Linked DNA regions of Homo sapiens: all the other regions are linked to region 2. The links are contacts of gene promoters, found by promoter capture Hi-C in blood cells and fetal thymus (Javierre and others, 2016). All regions are on one chromosome and are shown on one strand. Each heading gives the region's core, a stretch centred on a gene start or on the middle of the fragment in contact. The rest is flanking DNA. Distances are from core to core; before and after follow the strand shown.

Region 1 (4,229 bases), core at 1,232-3,731, 280 kb before region 2:
CAGGCACCTGTAGTCCCAGCTACTAGGGAGGCTGAGGCAGGAGAATGGCATGAACCTGGGAGGCGGAGCTTGCAGGGAGCCAAGGTCATGACACTGCACTCCAGCCTGGGTGACAGAGCAAGACTCTGTCTCAAAAAAAAAAAAAAAAAGAAGTTAGCTAGGCGTGGTGGCGTGCACCTGTAGTCCCAGCCACTCAGAAGGCTGAGGCAGGAGAGTGGCTTGAACTGGGGAGGCAGAGGTTGCAGTGAGCTGAGATCGCACCACTGCACTCCAGCCTGGGCGACAGAGCAAGACTCTGTCACAAAAAAAAAAAAAAAAAAAAAAGATTTTGTAAAATTATGTACTGCTTGACACATTTTATTCCTGATTCCAGAAGTACAGAATCAGGCATTAGATTCTCATAGGAGTGCTACCCCTATTGTGAACTGTGCATGCGAGGGATGTAGGTTGCAAGTTCCTTATGAGAATCTAATGCCTGATGATCTGTCACTGTCTCCCATCACCCCAGATGGAACTGTCTAGTTGCAGGAAAACAAGCTGAGGGCTCCCACTGATTCTACATTATGGTGAGTTGTATAATTATTTCATTATATATTACAATGTAATAATAATAGAAATAAAGTGCACAATAAATGTAATGCACTTAAATCATCCAGAAACTATCCCCTCCCCCCATTCACAGAAAAATTGTCTTCCACCAAACTGGTCCCTGGTGTCAAAAAGGTTGAGGACTGCTGCCCTAGAAGTGTGATACTCATAAGTGTATGGTTTTAAAAGATCTGAACAAGAAGTTGCTTTTAGCAGTCAAAAATTTCACTTTGTCCCCTGCTAATTCTATTCTACCTACTCCACATAAATTTATCCAAATGTAGTATCATTCTATGCTTAAAAATCTTTTATAGATCACCACATCATATGATCTGCACAATTGTGTATATACATTGAACACTTTTTACTTTATGTGCTCATAATGCTCTAATTAACATTTTCTGCCATTACAATTGCTAATACACAGTTGATCAAAACAGATCAACATGCTGACACTTTTGATAGAAAATTATTAAACATAAAAGAAAATTTTTGTTGGGAGTGCATCTCTTTATGAGATGAATGTGCTTTGTTTTTAAAATTAGTTCATATGTCTATCCATGAATAGTATTTATTAATAATATGAAAATGATTTGACATCATTTTTGTTTTCATTTTATAAATGTAAGGGCTAAGAAATCTTGCTTATGTGAATAAATGGGGACAGAAAAGGTTTGCTGAAACAAAAATCAGTCAATCCTTTCAACTCGTTCTAAATTTTATGTCAAAAATCACCTAGCGATCTATCATAACATTATTTTTCATGTTCTAGCAAATGACAGCTTGATTAAGCTTGTCTTCAATTTTGTTAGATGAAAAGAGTTGGAAACCACCTGGCTTGCAAAGAGGTTTTTATCCAGGTATCAGGGTTTTCTCCAAGAAAGGCTTGCCAAGACTTATCAAATGGTTATTAAATATATATGTTATTTTTGGCTCAAAGGCATTTTCTAAAGTAAGAGATATTCAAAGGGGTTGGGAAAATAAAATTTCTTTCTTTTAATGTACCTTAGCCAATTCAGAATTTTTAATAAAATTATTTTTATCTTCTCACATGTTTTCAATATATTTTATGTCAAAACTTTGATGACCTAAGACAACAGATTTAGCTCACTGAATCTGTGGAAAATGTTTGCCATCCAACCTGATTGGCAAAGGCAACGTTAGGCTTACATTCTTCAGAAGGACTTCAGTTTCCATTCAAATAAATATGTTGATATGGATTTTAAGGAACATTGCAAAAACCATTAAATTTAAATTTAATAAATTAAATTTATTAAATTATGAAGAACATTTCATAAAGTAGATTGCTAAAAGTCATAAAGTCATTATGTAGAGGTAATAGGATTTTTTCATTTTTATAATAAATTATAAAACAAGAAAATAATGTGATTTCTTACAACAAATCTATAGTTAAGTGATGTAATATAAAATTCTGGCTTGGTAGAGGTCCCTAAAGTGGGAGAAGGAGTTCTGTGGAAGTGGGTGACAATGAAGACCCTTCCTAAATATGGCAGCCGGTTCTCAGGCAGATCAGTTTCAAGTAAGAGTATGTATGGAATTTGAGAACCTAGAAATTGATTCCCTTAGAACTGTGTGTGCTCACATGACCCTTGGAAAGTCTTCAGGTACTCCAGGAATATTCTAGTTTGAAGGCCACTGCTATTAAGAACCAAATAACCAACCTGCTTTGATACCTAAAAATAATCAAACACATAATCAATAACAATTATTATTGAGAAGGGCCAACTGTCATCTATAGGTCAAGAACCCCCCCAGATTATCATTAGTCGTGCTTATTCAACTGAATATCTCAGCTGGATAACTCATAGTAACCTCAAACACAACACATCCATAACTGAATTTATTGTCTTTCCACTGAGGCCTGCTACTCATCCTATATTTCCTGTCTCAGAGCATGAAACTAGCATCTCCACAATGATCTGTGGGAAATGCTGTTGTTGGCCACTCAGTATCCATTCTTCACTAACAGAATCACTTTTAGTTCAGAGAAGCAATCTATTCCGCTTAAAAACTTTCTTGGAAATATATGCAATTTTTTATTTTAAAAAATAATAAGGTAAACAAAGACACATATAAAAAATAAAATAATTCAACAACCAAAAAATAAAGAACCTCCCTTGCAACTAGGGGTAGCTATACAAACTGCTCAGGCTACTGCATATCATAATGACATGGGTGGGACATCCAGGAAGGCTCTATTTTTTTTTTTTTTTTTGAGATGGAGTCTCACTCTGTTGCCCAGGCTGAAGTGTAGTGGTGTGATCTCAGCTCACTGAAACCTCCGCCTCCTGGGTTCAAGCAACTTTTCTGCCTCAGCCTCCCAAGTAGCTGGAATCACAGGCATGCACCACCATCCCCAGCTAATTTTTGTATTTTTAGTAGAGATGGGGGGTTTCACCATGTTGGCCAGGCTGGTCCCGAACTCCTGACCTCAGATGACCCACCCACCTCAGTCTCCCAAAATGCTGGGATTACAGGCATGAGCCACCGTGCCTGGCCCAGGAAGGCTCTTTTTAAAAGGGCTGTCTCTGCCTTTTGCCCTGCAACCCTTCCCTTCATCCAGCTTGGACCAATGTGATGCTGAAAGTAGCACATGCTTCTTACATTAACAAGATGACAAGCACGAGGACGAAAAGCCATTCTAAAGAAGGTTGCGCAGAAAGCTAGGAGAGGCATCACAAATCTGCAGAATAGCAGTAGATTGTGTTGCCAACTGTGATAGTCAAGCACAATCCTGACATCATAACCAACCGAGAAACCTGGACCATTCCCCATGGCTCCTTCTCTCTCACTCCCCACATCCACCTAGTAGCCAAACCTTGATTCTTTTATATCCCTAACATCCCTACTGTCATTCCCGCTTTCTCTAACCCTGTAGCTAACTGCCTCAGTTTGAGACCTTGCTTTTTGGTTTTCCCGTTTTTCTGATGGCAAGGTTTTCTTATTAGAGTCTCAGCTTGTGCCAAAGCTTTAAACGGCTTTTGTTGCCTGTGTCATGAAGCACCAACTTCTTCAAGAGAAACACTAGATCTTAGCATATGCTCTGACTCTTCCTTGGCTTGCTAGACTGATTTTTGACCATATTTCTCCCATCCTTCACTTCAGACAAACTGAGCTACACTAAGTTGTCCTTTGTCTTTGGACCCTTTCTCTCTCTCCTCTGTGCCCTGAAATAACCTTAATCCCTCACTTCATCATGGCAAACATCTACTCTTCTCTTTTTTTTAGAGACAAGGTCTCACTCTGTTGCCCAGGCTATAGTGAAGTGGCATGATCAGAGCTCACTGCAGCCTTGACCTGCCAGGCTCAAGTGATCCTTCCACCTCAGCCTCCCAAGTAGCTGGGATTGCAGGCACCTGCAACCATGCTCCAATAATTTTTTTTAAAAAATTTCTGTAGAGACATGGTCTCCCTATTTTGCCCAGGCTGGTCTCAAACAGTCCTCCCACCTTGGCCTCCCAAAGTATTGGGATTACAGGTGTGTGCCACTCAAGTTATATCACTCTTGAAGCCTTTCCCAGACTCACTCCCTCCTTGTTGAAAAACATAAAGATAATTATGGGATTAGTAAAATGATTTAATTATCGCATTCTTTCTGAGACATGGGAATTTAAAATGCC
Region 2 (4,024 bases), core at 625-3,124:
GAGGAGGGGCTTGTGGGAATCCAGATTTGTAACTGGTTGGTTAATCATAAACAACATATAGTCACAACCTGGGACTTGTGATTGGCATTTGAAGTGGGGGGCAGTCTTTTGGGACTGAGCCCTGAACGTATGGGATCTGACACTAACTCCAGGTACACAGTGTCAGAACTGGGTTAAATTATAGGACGTAGAGTTGGTGGCCACTGGAGAATTGGTTGTCGGTGGGAAGAAATTCCCATACATTTTGGTGACAAGAGGTGAAGGGCTGTACTGAGTGTGTGAGAGTAAAGAGAAAAAAGTTTTTTGTTTTTTTTTTCCTCTCAGAACAACCAAAGCCAGATTAAAAGATGAAATGGCTGAACAATTGCCAGCCCATATAGAGAGCTAAATCCTCACTGGGATCACACAGAAGAGCAATGATGTCAATTAACTGTGTTTCCACAGGTTATCTGTTATACAGCTGGAGAAATGCAAGTTAGTCTGGTCCTTCTCCACTACAGTAGACAGAGTGGCTTAGAAATTAAAACACTGCTCCTCGGCAGAGGTATGTACCTACATGCGCGTACTTCTGCAATTCACACATGCAAATTGTGCAATGATTCCTTTATTTATCAAAAATTTACTTCCTTAAATATGCCTCCAAAAAGGTATCTGGTTCTAAAGATCGCACAAAAGAACGGGAGTAGAAGAAAAGTAAGTGTGATTGGTGAAAAAACAGAAATGAAAGACAATTCCAGTTGAGTTAAATGTCCCACATTTAGGGCATGTAAAACTACATGCCAGTATATAATTTTTATTAAGTACACACTAAGCAATGGATAATGAAAATAATGGCGTGTTTTGAGGAAACCTGGGCTATTGATCTTACAGGCGGTGATAGAAAATACCATACTTGTGCTGGTATTTTCAAATGGTGGATGTGCTCACTGATTTATAAGTTTAAAGCTATAAAACTAAAGCTGTAACAAACAAGATGCAACTGTTGCTATAAAACTTCCAAGTCCTTAACCCTTCTTCCTCCCACTGAAATAAGTGTTTGTAGAGCATGATTTTTGAGGTTTCTGTGGAGCACAAATGTCAGTTCCTGCAGAACAGACTTTAACAGGCTTGGATACAATTGCATGGGTTGCAGTGAACTTTAACACCAATGATGTCAGGATATTGTGTTCTGATACATATGCAAAGTTTATTAATAAGCACAGCATCGGTATTTTTAAATCGATATTTTAAAGTACCACTGTTTTATTTGTCCTGCTCATCAAATCTTAGCATATTAACTCTTAGAGCTATCCTTATAACCAAGACCTATATTCACAGTAGATTTTTTGTATTCCTCCCTCATTCCCCCAACCCAGCCCCCACCCTACTCCCTACATTTTTGGACCCCATAGGAGGAAAGAGGGAGAGAACTGTCAGAAGGAAGAAGGCAGTTGGTGTGAACCTATGAAAATCAGCGTTTTCCAAAGTGTTCAAGAACTTTACTTCGATCCCAAATCAGTTCTCTGGAGGAGGTAAGAGTTTACTTGGCATGGCCCGATGCAAACCCTACCCTACGCGTGGATTTTGTTTCTCCCCAGAGCCTCTTCAGAATCTTGGTTAATTCCAGAGCTGCTAAGGGACTCCAGGGTCGCGGAGGGAGGGCCCTGCGCCCCTCAGCGCTGCTTAGGGTCTTCCTGGGCGACTGCACTGGGAAACTAAGCCGGCCCAGGCGATGTGCCCCGGGCGGCCCCAAGAAAAAGACTAGCGGCTCAGAAGCCACGGGCTTTACCTCTAGGAAGTGGCTATGAGGCCCGGTACAGTGGCGGCTGTCTCCTCTTGGAACCGCGCAGTGAAAATCGAGTGCGCCAACTCGGGCCGCAGCTCCGGAGAGGGGTGGGGCAGGGACAGGGTCATCTCCATAGGGATCCAACAACACGGAGCCACCACCCCGCCCCACAGGCCCGCAGCCCCTCCCGCCGCCGCGCCCGGACGGCCAACCTGCATCTCCCCAGCTGCAGTGAGCAAAGCCGCCCGCGCCGTGCGAGCCACCGCCCTTCTCTTGAGGCCAGCTAGGCTCGGGTCCCGGCTCCTTTCCCTGCCTCCAGGGAGCTTGCGGTGGGAGAAAGCTTCCGTGGGGTCCCGTGGGTCGCGGCACGTCTCGGAAGCCCTGCGAGGTGCCCAGCAGAGGTGCCAGACCCAAGGCCGTGGGACCCCAAGAAGAGACTTGGACACTGAAGCCAACGTTTGCTTGATCTCAAACAAAGCCAGCGATGTTAATTAAGGCTGTGTGATGAGGAAAGTGGAGTTTCTTATTTTTTGTCACATTCATCTTCAGCAGATCCTCAGAAAATGTTAATATTTACTGCAGAATTACCAATTTCAGCATTATACAGGAGGTACAAAAACAAAACCAAAAAACCCTTCTTCATTAGTTTCAGGTCAAAATGTCTTTTAACTATTTATTGTGAAGCCTGTTTTTTTCTTTTGTATGTAATAGTTATGGCCATGAAAAGATGCTCACAGTACATTACTTACAAAAAGCAGCTTAGAAAACCAGCAGAATGGTACGATCTATTTTTTTTGCAACGTGTGTAAGAAATCTGGGAGTATGTACACAAATAGGTTAAATGGTTTGCTCTGGTAGTTTTAAAAATCATCTGTAATTCAATTTTTCCTACAACGAATAAGCAACATCTATGTAATAAACCATAAGTTTCATTCTAGTAAAGTTTCATATGAGAAATGTGATCTTGCTATGCTGCCTAGGCTGGAGTGCAGTGGCTATTCACAGGCCTGGTCATTGTGCACTATATTTTTATTTTTATTTCAAATATCTTTTTCTTTTTCATCTGTATGCCAGTAAAATCATCATTGTACACTATAGCCTAGAACTCCTGGGCTCAAGCAATCCTCCCGCCTCAGCCTCCAGAGTAGCTAAAAGTACTGGTGCCTGTCACCAAACCAGGCCTTAAATTTTATTCTAATCCAGGCACTGCATTTTTTCCTGTTTCCTTGAACATGTGTTTAAGGAGTGTGAAAGGATACAAATTAGATAAGCTAATATTTCGCTACCTGGGACCCATTTAGGGCCCTGTGACACAAAGGGCGAATGAACCAAGTGAATAAACAAGGTCAATCCACTGCTCTGTCACAACCCGCAGGAACCAGCTTTTTGCTTTACTCTATCTCAGGACCAATCCAAGAAAAACATGTCACATGACAAAGTGTCCTTTCGCCCTGTCAGACCCTAGAGTACGACTTTTTCCCCCTTAAATCCCTATTCTCACAACCCAAATGAAGTTTCCTCCATGATGCTGTAATTTTTAAAAGGGGTATTAAAAAGACCAATTTACTGATCAAAATACTTTGAATTCAGAAAGCCAAAAATTATTAAAATCAAGATTTGAAAAATATTCAGTAAGTCCCTCTCCTCCCCTCCCCCAATTAGGTGCTTATTTCTGTGGCCTGGAAACAAGGAGACAGAAGCATGAGCATCTTCTGCAACACAAAGGTAACTGAGTTATAAATAAGCAAAATGTGTTCTATCCATACCATGGCATATGATCAGCCAAAACAAGAAATGAAGTACATGCAATAACATGGATGAAGCTTCAATCCTTGAAAACATCATGCTAAGTAAACGAAACCAGTCACAAAAGGCCACGTATTGTATGATTCCATTTATATAAAATGTCTAGAATAGAAAATCCAGAGAGCTGGAAAGGAGGTTAGTGGCTGCCAAAGGCTGAGGGGATTAGGGGACAAGGAGTGACTGTTAATGGGATTCTTTTTAGTGTGATGAAAATGTTCTAGAATTAGATCACGGTGATGGGTATATAACTCTATGAATCTACTAACAATCACTGAATTGTACACTTTAAAGGGGTACATTTTATGACATAAATTATTGTTTCAATAAAGCTGTTTTTAAAGGGTGATGAAATTAATGTTTACTGAGCATTACTGGTATCAGCTATTGTGCTAGGCATCTCTCTTTTTTTTTTTTTTTTTGAGACAGAGTCTTGCTCTGTCGCCTAGGCTAGAG
Region 3 (4,536 bases), core at 184-2,683, 310 kb before region 2:
CTGTCGCCCAGGCTGGAGTGCAGTGGTGCAATCTAGGCTCACTGCAACCTCCGCCTCCCACGTTCCAGCAATTCTCCTGCCTCAGCCTCCTGAGTAGCTGGTGTTACAGGCATGTGCCACCACACCCAGCTAATTTTTGTATTTTTAGTAGAAATGGGTTTTCACCATGTTGGCCAGGCTGGTCTTGAACTCCTGACCTCAGGTGATCCACCCACCTCAGCCTCCCAAAGTGGTAGGATTACAGGTGTGAGCCACTGCACCTGGCTGAAAAGCATGTATATTTTCTAAATATGTGCAGAATTCCATTTATATCAATTCGATCAAGTTTTTAAATTGTGTGGTATCAACCTTCTATAACTTTACTTATTTCTTTTAGACTGCTTCATTTATTACTGAGGGAATTATATGAATTTATCCATTTCTTCTTGTAATTCTGTTAGATTTTGGATATTTAATTCAAGGCTGTATTGTACAAGGTATAGATTCAGAGTTGGTACAGCTTCCCAATGAATTGTTCATTTTATTATTATGTAATGATCCTCTTTGTAACTAATAACACTCTTTTTTTCTTTAGAGTCTATTTTGTGTGGAATTACTATAGTTATACCAGTTTTCTTTCGATTGAGATTTTTCTGGTATGAATTATTTATTTATTTATTTACAATGTCCCCATGCTATCCTGTGTTAGGTGTTATAAACGTGTAACAGCATTTTTTTTTTTTTTTTGAGACGCTCTGTCACCCAGGCTATAGTGCAGTGGTGTGATCTCGGCTCACTGCAACCTCCGCCTCCTGGGTTAAATGATTCTCATGCCTCAACCTCCTGAGTAGCTGGGATTACAGGTGCCCACCACCACTCCCGGTTAATTTTTGTATTTTTAGTAGAGACAGAATTTCACCATGTTGTCCAGGCTGGTCTCAAACTCCTGACCTCAAGTGATCCACCTGCCTCAGCTTCCCAAAGTGCAGGGATTACAGGCGTGAACCACTGCTCCATTTAACTGGATTTTTAAAATTCAATCTGACAATCTCTGTTTTTTAAATACTGTGTTAATTCATTTATATTAATACATTATATATTTAGATTTAATTTTAGTATCTCATTTTGTGCTTTTATTATGCCGTTTACATTTCTTCTTCTTCCTCCTTTTTCTCTTTCTTCTTTCCTGACTTCTTTTTGGTGAATTTGGTTTTCTACATTTCCTTTTATTTTTCAACAGGTTTGGAAGTCTTACTTTTTAGTATTCCAATTAGTTTCATTTTGTTCTTAGATTTTTAACAAGCTACAGTAGGTTCTGGCCAAGCTTGTCTTACCTAACCACTCTTCAGCTTTGCAACCCAGGAGATAACTAGTTGCATACAACCACAGCCTAGATGTTATGTATAACTTGTGTACCCAGAAACAGAGGTTCAATGATACAGCTACCTAAAGACCGCTTTTGCAAACATAAAAGGTAATTATGTTGGAGTTTTAGAAACTGGTATACAAAAGGCATGATAAACAATGCCTTACCTTAAACAGGTGGAAAACTACTGCCCACTCAGGCATGTCTGTGAAGCTTTGGGGGGACTTGAAAACCATGCTCACTGCACGTCTGCCTGCCTGATGTTTTCCATTATGCTTAGAGCTTATCACAGTAAGATGCGACAGTACACGATTTATTAGTCAAAGTGCTCATTTTCATTAAGACCTGGAATCAGCCCTCGGTGGAACTACTTTGCCCAGACACTTAACAAAATCTAAATTCATTAGTACCTTGGACCTGATACTTGGCAATAGGAGAACCTGAACTACCTATATTCACAAACACCCTCTCATCTCTCAAGTAACTCATTTTCCATGTAACTATTTGTTGTTAACTCCCCCAAATAATCATCAATATTTGTTTTTTACTTATTTTTTAATAATTTATTTCATTGTTCACTTTATATTTCAAATTCCTGGGGGTATGAATCTTTGTTGTATCTGCTGTCACCCATGGTTAATGATATGTTTGTAACTTTCTGTGTATGCCAATAAACTTGTTTTATTCTGTGGGAATCCTATTAGCCTGGGTTGTAGGATAGTGCCTCCAAGGAAGTTTTGTATTTTTCTCTGCTCTAACTTGAAATAAATTTTTATTTAATTGCTAGATAGGAGGTTTACATACCACACACATAGTAAGCAAAGAAATACAGACATTACTAGACATAAGATTTTAATGTGTGATAAAGACTTACAAATTAGATGTTGAAGAAAAAAATTATTTTTTAAAGTAGTGCTGCTAACACAAAGAATATAGTTATGTATGAAAATTAAAACAAAACTAGGAGGTCAGGGGAATCCCAGGACGAAAGGCAGAATGTGACAAAACAATCTAACTCTATTACAAATGCATGAAACAGCCTTACAAATGTTTCAGGCGCTGACCTCAAACTTTGGAAATGAGCAAAGTCTGAGAAACTAAAGGCAAAAGAAACTACACAGGCACTATACTTCTAGCTGAGAAAGTTGTTTCCCACAGAGTTTAACAATTCTGCTACTATTCTACATGTATACTCTGGTTGAACAATGAAGTAAACACATGGCAGGTGGTAGGAGCCAGGTTTCTCACTGTTGAAGTTGGAGGTTACAGATAAGCAAGGGGAGAGTCTAGAGCAATCTTAGTATTAAGGAATAAAGTTGGAGGCATCAATATGAATTCATGTTTAGCTTAATATAGATACAGATGGTTACATATAGAAATTTGTATGTGTGTGTGCGTGTGTATATATATACATGTTAGTATACACACATAGATTTCCTTGCACTGTCTGCTAAGAGGGCCTAGAAACAACAACACTGGAGTAACAAGCACACTTAGCACCCGCATTCCAATAAAAGTAACCAGAGCATCTTGGTGAAATGGCTGATTCTAAGATTGAAACAGAAAATATACAAGGTGGGCCTGGAACATCTCATAGTGCCAGAAAGTAAGGAAGTGCTAAATCATGCAAACCCCCTGCCCCCAGACACACACGAACAATGAGGGTAGTCAAAAGGACCCAGGAGTCAAAGGAAAGAGCTTTCAATGGCCAAGCTGGAACAATTTGTGCAACGACAACAACTAAAAGAAATAACATTGGACTATCACTCAAAATATAAAATAAATATTTATGAGTCTATACTGATGCATGAGTTTTTTTCACCCCTTCACTGGACATGCGGCAGGGGCACCACGTCTACTTGGCCCACTGTGCTCAGCCCCATGTGGAGGGAGCTTGTGAGTGGGCGAGTGCGGGATCCAGATGGCTGCTCTGGGTGCCAACACAGAAGCAAGCTCCATGTGGGGCCTGCAGTCAGACCAGGTGTGTTGCCTCAAAGGGAACGTGGTGGCACCCAGGTGAGGGTGCCTATGACCCTGAAGGCCCAGAGCAGGTGTCACAGTGCTGTTTAATTCCATCATCTGCAGTCTGATGGACGGCAGTGTGTTAGCAGCTCAGCTGGCCCCTTGCCTCATTGTGTGGGGTGACTGCCCTCTGCCAGAGAGGGCAAAGGGCCAGTGTGACAACCTTTTCAGGGTACCCGCACTCAGTGGGTCCCAAGCTCTTGTCCAGCATCCAAGAAGAATGAGGTCACGTGGACGGCTGAAGGATGGTGAAGACAGAGAATTTTACTGAGTGATGAAAACAGCTCTCAGTGGACAGGGGAGCTGAAGAGGGGCCAGGAAGGGCAGGTCATCTTCACCAAAGTCAGGCTGTCTCCTCCTCTACTGACTGAGTCTGGGGTCTTCATAGGCACAGGATGAGGAGTGCATGCTGATTGGCTTGTGAGTATGCAAAAAAGGTTAAGGTGAAGATACCACTCAAAAGTGGGCATGACAGTATAGAAAACAAGTTAGAAAAGGATAGATATATGTAAAATAGGTGATGGGGATTAATCAGAGGAAAGCACGCCAAACAGGAGGACAAGTTCTCAATCCAGTCTGGGGATTTAACTTGTAGTTTGGCTTTCAGGCTTTAAACTCTCTTCTGCTTGGAGGTGGGATTTCACTGAGAACTCGCCACTGTCTGCCTAGGCATTTCGCTGCCTCCTGTCACTATCAATACTACATAAATAAATGATTAAATAAATACATTAGGGGAGAAAAGACAAATAATTCTAGGCACAACAATTCCAAATAATTTATGTAGAAGCTGCACCCCTGTGGGAGCATAACTCCCCAGTCTTTAAGTGTGGGCTGCATAAAGTGACTCTGTCCCAGAGAGTACATTACAGAAAGGGAAACAAAAGCAACTTTGTAGTAGAGAAACCTGACAAACACTACCTCAGCCAGGTGATCAAGTCATGATCAACAGGGATAAGTCATGCTGATAATATGTGTCCTTGACATGATGTGATGAAATAGAACTTGACCTCTATGGTTTTCTTCCCCAAAACCCAAAACCCCAGTTTAATTATGAGGAAAGCATCAGACAAATCCCAGTAGAAAGACATTATACAAAATACCTGACCACTTCTCAAACCTGTCAAGATCAACAAAAACAAATAAATTCTGAGAAATGATCATAGCCAAAT

Evidence for each region. Contacts are between HindIII fragments. The CHiCAGO score rates a contact against its expected background, and 5 or more counts as called.
Region 1: a contact is called between a fragment that was not itself captured here and the fragment with the promoter of ECT2L in region 2, in 1 of 17 cell types (endothelial precursors). The highest score is 5.4, in endothelial precursors.
Region 3: a contact is called between a fragment that was not itself captured here and the fragment with the promoter of ECT2L in region 2, in 1 of 17 cell types (endothelial precursors). The highest score is 5.4, in endothelial precursors.

What each region holds. Positions count from the first base shown.
Region 1 is chr6:139,070,448-139,074,676 of GRCh38, reverse strand. No RefSeq gene overlaps it. Among named protein-coding and RNA genes, the nearest start is that of ABRACL, 44 kb to the right of the region's middle. The HindIII fragment of the contact is 2,197 bases long and covers 1,383-3,579 here.
Region 2 is chr6:138,793,937-138,797,960 of GRCh38, reverse strand. It overlaps ECT2L (epithelial cell transforming 2 like), which reads right to left and starts at 1,874. Exons shown (of 22, transcript NM_001077706.3): 1 at 1,769-1,874. The HindIII fragment of the contact is 4,734 bases long and covers 1-2,107 here.
Region 3 is chr6:139,098,126-139,102,661 of GRCh38, reverse strand. No RefSeq gene overlaps it. Among named protein-coding and RNA genes, the nearest start is that of HECA, 35 kb to the left of the region's middle. The HindIII fragment of the contact is 255 bases long and covers 1,306-1,560 here.